2 separate regions of the Homo sapiens genome follow, and region 1 is linked to region 2. Evidence: promoter capture Hi-C in 16 types of primary human blood cells and fetal thymus (Javierre and others, 2016). All regions are on one chromosome and are shown on one strand. Each heading gives the region's core, a stretch centred on a gene start or on the middle of the fragment in contact. The rest is flanking DNA. Distances are from core to core; before and after follow the strand shown. Region 1 overlaps RBBP6 (RB binding protein 6, ubiquitin ligase). Region 2 holds the start of PALB2 (partner and localizer of BRCA2).

The links. The method cuts DNA at HindIII sites, captures the fragments that hold promoters and counts their contacts. A CHiCAGO score of 5 or more calls a contact.
Region 1: a contact is called between a fragment that was not itself captured here and the fragment with the promoter of PALB2 in region 2, in 1 of 17 cell types (M2 macrophages). The highest score is 6.6, in M2 macrophages.

What each region holds. Positions count from the first base shown.
Region 1 is chr16:24,563,649-24,566,706 of GRCh38, reverse strand. It overlaps RBBP6 (RB binding protein 6, ubiquitin ligase), which reads right to left. Exons shown (of 18, transcript NM_006910.5): 13 at 3,043-3,058; 14 at 1,842-1,910. Among named protein-coding and RNA genes, the nearest start is that of RBBP6, 26 kb to the right of the region's middle. The HindIII fragment of the contact is 2,490 bases long and covers 380-2,869 here.
Region 2 is chr16:23,639,696-23,642,706 of GRCh38, reverse strand. It overlaps PALB2 (partner and localizer of BRCA2), which reads left to right and starts at 1,397. Exons shown (of 13, transcript NM_024675.4): 1 at 1,397-1,597. The coding sequence starts at 1,550. It overlaps DCTN5 (dynactin subunit 5), which reads right to left and starts at 1,241. Exons shown (of 6, transcript NM_032486.4): 1 at 1,117-1,241. The coding sequence starts at 1,164. RefSeq lists an enhancer at 179-968 and a silencer at 2,096-2,330. The HindIII fragment of the contact is 17,437 bases long and covers 1-3,011 here.

The DNA.
Region 1 (3,058 bases), core at 375-2,874, 920 kb before region 2:
ACAGTGGTGTAATCTTGGCTCACTGCAACCTCCACCTCCTGGGTTCAAGCGAATTCTCCTGCCTCAGCTTCCCAAGTAGCTGGGACTAGAGACGTGTGCCACCATGCCCAGCTAATTTTTGTATTTTTAGGAGAGACAGGGTTTCACCATGTTGGGCAGGCTGTTCTCAAACTCCTGACCTCAGGTGATCTGCACAAAGTGCTGGGGTTACAGGTGAGAGCCACCACACCTGGCCCCAAAAGTTTAAATGAAGGAAAACCAACTCCTGTAACCTCTTTTTTGAGGGAGGAAGTGGGTAAAGATCATACAAAGCAGAATAAATTCTAGTTTTAACTTCTATAATTAACAATGAAAATATCAACGCTTTCTCTCAAAAGCTTAAGTAAAAATAACAGTGTTGGCTAAGTTTCTAATTTGTGCCTCACCAAACAGAACTGGTTACTTCTGTTAAACTAGAGGTGCTTTAAATTATAAATAATTGGTACACAACAGCAACAGTAGGGGTTTAGATTTTAAGCATCTTTTCAGTGAGCCATGAATAACTATTACCTTCTTTTAAAATGTGATCCAGTAATGACATAGTAAACTTTCATAAGTTTAGCAATGAAGCACTAGAAGATATCCCGAATTTCCTTCTTTTTGGAGACAGGGTCTCACTCTGTCCCCTAGGCTAAAGTGCAGTGATGTGGTTATAGCTCACTGCAGCCTTGACTTCCTAAGCTCAAGTGATCCTCCTGCCTCAGCCTCCCAGGTAGCTGGGACCACAGGTGCATGCCACCATGTCTGGTTATTTTATTTTTTTGGTAGAGACAGAGTCTTGCTATGTTGCCCAGGCTAATCTTGAACTTCAGGCCTCAAGCAATCCTCCCCCATCAGCCTCCCAAAGCTCTAAAATTACCAGCATGAGCCATTATGCCTGGCCAAAACTCTTGTTATGAAGTTTTGGAGGCTCCTTTATCCTGGTGGTGATTATGACCTAGACTAGCAGTTCTCAACCGTTTTGGCACCAGGGAGCTGTTTTGTGGAAGACAATTTTTCCATGGACGGGGGCAGGGGGGTAAAAACTGTTCCACCTTAGATGATCAGGCATTAGATTCTCCTAAGAAGCGTGCAACCCAGATCCTTTGCACACGCAGTTCACAACAGGGTTCATGCTCCTATGAGAATCTTAATGCCACTGCTGATCTGACAAGAGGTGGAGCTCAGGTGGTAATGCTCGCTCAGCTGCTGTTCACCTCCTGCTGTGTTGCCCAGTTCCTAACAGGCCAAGGATGGATACTGGTCTGTGGCCCAGGGTTGGGGACCCCTGACCTAGACAGTAAGATTCTTACTTCTTAGATTAATATTGCTTGTACCCGCCCACTAGGGCAGGAGCCTCTAACAATCTCCTGTCTCTTCTTTTGGAAAAGAGACGGTGGGAGATGATTGGGACAGTGGGGTCTAGAAGAGAAATAGTTGCAATTCTTGTTCACAGTTGGGAGCTGAGCTTGTTAACTTTAATCTTAAATTAAACTGGTATCTTAGATATTGTCTGACCCCTGACTTTCTTCTACTTCCAAGAGGGTAAATGCAAGCCAATACTCTGCTGTTTGCTGACAGGGAGAAAGTAATCACTGGGAAGGAATATTAAAAATGTCTTAAAAACCATCATTTAAGATACTATATATAATTTATTCTTTTCTAGCCCTCTTTAAGGACAACTACCCAGGACTTAAGAGGGATAAGCACAATACAAACAAATGACCCCCTTCCTTCCTGCCACTGCTGTGCTTTAATTTCTTTGGTGAGATATATATATAAAAAATAAGATGATTATTTTCCAAGATTTTTAGCATGCCTACCTGTAGCAGCTCCTCTCCCCTCTTCTAATTTGTTGTGGTGGAGAAACCAGATAGCCAAGTTTGTTGGAACTGTGTGGGAGAAAAAAAAATAGGCTCAAGTATTTCTCCATGGGTATAATACATGACCTTTCCATGCATAGCTGTTAAGACACCAATTTTAACTACTCTGAAAACTTTTTCCTACTCCCCAGTTCTTAAATTTGTTTCGGATACAGAGCTGAGTAAATATTATATTTACTTAAAACTAACTTTCCCCCACCAATTAACTGTATCATAACAATAACTAGACCTCAAAATAGATTACTTTATGTAATATTATATTTTAATTAGCACTCTATAAATTACTCTGTGAACTTATTGTTATATACAAGGAAAAGAGCCCTTTTGTCTGCTGGGCACAATGAAGTCATTTTACATGTTAAGGTAGGTAGTGTCATTCCAAATCCAAACGAGGAAATGGATGTTAGGGAGTAAAACCACAAGACCACTGTCATGCAGCTAGGAAATGAAGGAGATGGGATTCAAACCCAAGTCTACCTGTTTCTAAATCCTATGTTCCTTCTACTGATACATCCTGCTAGTAACTCATACTTTTAAGAATATATCAATTTTCAATCGGATTATATAAACAGAAATAATTATATAACTAAAAATACATTAAGTAAGTCTGCTGATTTTTAATGCCATAAAATATCCCACAGAGAAAATCAAAGTTCTTTGTATTTTAGGGTGGCAAGAACAACTCGATTTCAGACAAAAAATTTTTGTTTGGTAGACGTTAATCTTATTATGTATTTATGTACTCAAATCAAACTTTGATCATCCAAATTAAGGGTAGAAAAAGTTAAACCTACTAGGAAAATAACTGCCACCATATTTAAAATAACTTTTCAAGTAATTCTTATCTATTCATTAAACTGAAGTCCTGTCAAGATCCCCATTTGTTGGATATGAAAGTAGAAAAAAACTTTTAAAATTTTGTATTTTAGAAAAGATTTGCTCATTTAAAAAAAACCCTCATATAAGCTTGAATTTTGACATTTTACATAAAAAATGTTAATCTGGCACATGAAAGTTTACAATAAAGAGCAGCGACCCGCTGCCTAGTTTGGACCTTCCATTATCTAGTTTGCCTAGTTTGGACCTTCCATTATCTAGTTTGCAGGCAATCATCTGAAGATTATTGTAAACATCTACTCACTGTTCCCAGCCTGGTC
Region 2 (3,011 bases), core at 148-2,647:
AAGACCAGCCTAGGCAACATAGTGAGACCCCTTCTCAACAAAAAAAAAATTTTTTAATTAGCCGGGCATGGTGGCGCGTGTCTGTAGTCCCAGCTCCTCAGAAGGCTGAGGCTAGAGGATCGCTTGAGCCTGGAAGGCCGAGGCTGCAATGAGCTGTGATTGTGCCACTGCACTCCAGCCTGGGCAACAGAGTGAGAACCTGTCTCAAAAAATAAAAACACAAAGGAAACTAGGGACTCAAGGAATAAACTCATAATTTGAATGTCTATAGCTTGGTGGCATCAGACAGACGCGGATTCAAATCCCACTTCCACGCGTGGGCTTTACGGCCTTAAAACGAGGATAATGACTATGAGTATCAGAGTTGTGAGAAAGCAAAGAAAACCAAAATAACGATAGTAACGTTAATTGACCACTTGCCCTGTTTCCAAGATTTTACAAACATATCATGTACTGATCATAAAGAACCAAATCGGCAGGGTGCGGTGGCTCACGCCTGTAATGCCAGCACTTTGGGAGGCCGAGGCGGGTCGATCACCTGAGGTCAAGAGTTAGGGACCTGCCTGGCCAACACGGTGAAACCCCGTCTCTACCAAAAAATACAAAAATTAGCCGGGCGTGGTGGCGGGCGCCTGTAATCCCAGCTACTCGAGACGCTGAGGCAGGAGAATCGCTTGAACCCGGGAGGCGGAGGTTGCAGTGAGCAGAGATCGCGCCGCGGCCCTCAGGACTGGGCGACAGAGTCTCCGCCCCCCAACCCCCTTCCTCAAAAAAAAAGAACCGAATCGTTTTTAGCGCAAGTTAACAGATACAAAAGGCAGTGTAAAAGGGCCCGAAGTCCGAGCTGTAATTCGTATGAACAGGATGGGACTTGTCCTATCCTCCCGAAGGCACTTTACCCCTATGAGAAAATCAGGAATAAATACAAAAGGCCTCAACTGGCCAAGCGCGGAGTAAACAGCAAAGCCAGACGGTACACGGGGCATCGCTAGATAATCCGGGACTAATGGCCAAAGGGACAGGGGTTGGTGGGGTAGGGGCAGGTTGGGAACGCCGACCAGGCCTCAAAGGGACGCAGGGTTGGAAAGAGGAGGATACATATCTGGACCCGCGCACCGTCTCGATGTACTCAGACTTGTTGTAGAGCAGCTCGCCCAACTCCATGGCCGCCGCCTCCTTCCCTCAGCCCCGGATCCTGTCAGAGTCAGTCGGTCAGTCTTTCAGAGATTCCGGCTACTTCCGGCCGCTCCTCCACTTCCGCTCCAGGTGGCCCACTGGGACTCATCGACAGCGCGGCTCTCCTTTAGGCGGCCTCGCTCCACTGCTCGGCCGTCTACGGCTGCGCGTGCGCAGGCCGAATGGTGGATTTAATTGGCCGGAGTTTAGGGCGCGCTTGGCCCGCGTGGGTCAGCTGATCGCGCACTGAGGGTGCGATCCCGGGCTCCCCATTCCTTCCTGGGGCGCCTCCCCGGCCCAGGGCCAACTGGGTCCCGGTGTCGGCAGGCCTGGGGTCGGCGACGGCTGCTCTTTTCGTTCTGTCGCCTGCCCGATGGACGAGCCTCCCGGGAAGCCCCTCAGCTGTGAGGAGAAGGAAAAGGTGCCGGGGGTGCGGGAAGGGCGGACGCAGGACTCTGACCCCGCTTTCCCAGGGTTTTAGGCCTGGCTTTGTGTCCTCGGCAGTCCGAGGGCAGCAGTATCATCTGACCACCCCCTCCTCTTAGGGCTGAGGGGGCACAGAAAATGAAAATGTGGAAATAGCGTGGTGCTCACGTGGTGGCGTTTAAAGAACAAATTTCATTACAGTAGCAGCGCATTAATACAATGTGTAACAGTTTGTAGATAAAGCTGTATCGACACCCTTGCTCCTCCCCCCTCCCACACCCTCAATCTTTACTTCTCCCCCCGGACGGCCTCAAGTAAATCTTTTAAGTCTGGTACTTCCAGGTCCTTTCGTGTGTTAATGTGGGTGGTGGAGGAGGGGCGTATCCCTAACCACCAAAAAGGAATCCTATGTATATTTTTTGGAGAAGGGAATGTTCATAAATGGTATGATCTGAATGGTTCTGCAGGTTCCGTTTAGCTTTCCTGTCAGGACATGTTTATCTACCTTGCTTTCTTTTTTAAGTTCTAGACAGTATGTTGTAGTTTGGAAGTGCCCTCGTTTTGTTTCTTTTTTCTTCCTTTTCTGTTTTTCTTCTTTTTTGAGACAGAGTCTCACTCTGCCACCCATGCTGGGGTGCAGTGGCGCGATCTCGGCTCACTGCAACCTCCGCTTCCTGGGATCAAGCGACTCTCCTGCCTCAGCCTCCCGAGTAGCTGGGATTACACGAACCCGCCACTGCACCTGGCCTTGGAAGTGCCCTTGCTTCTTTAGACTGTACTTTACTGATAGACTTTTAGGATGTTTCCAGCTTGTGCTGATGTTATTCTTATCCTGGCTTACCTTCTGGTGGAGGTGAGAAAGATCATTTATAAGTAAACAAGATAATCCCCAGACATTGATAAGATTGGTGGGAGGCCAGTCTCCCTGGCTCACGCCTGTAATCCCCGCACTTTGGGAGGCCGAGATGGGCAGATCGCTTGAGCTCAGAGTTTGAGACCAGCCTAGGCAACGTAGTGAAACCCCGTCTCTACTAAAAATACAAAAATTAGCCGGGTGTGGTGACGCCAGCCTGTAGTCCCAGAGGCTCAGGCCTCAGAGGCTGATGCACGAGAATCGCTTGAACCAGGGGACGCTGAGGTTGCAGGGAGCTGCCGAGATCGCGCCACTGCACGCCAGGCTGGACGACAGAGTGAGACTGTCTCTCAAAAAAAAAGAAAATTCCTTACGGTTGGCAACTTGTCTAGTAGCATGTTTTGCACATAGGTTTTGTTTTGTTTGTTTTTGAGACAGACTCTCCGCTCTATCTCCCAGGCTGGAGTGCAGTGGCTCGATCTTGGCTCACTGCAACCTCCGCCTCTCAGGTTCAAGCGATTCTCCTGCCTCAGCCTCCCGAGTAGTTGGGATTACA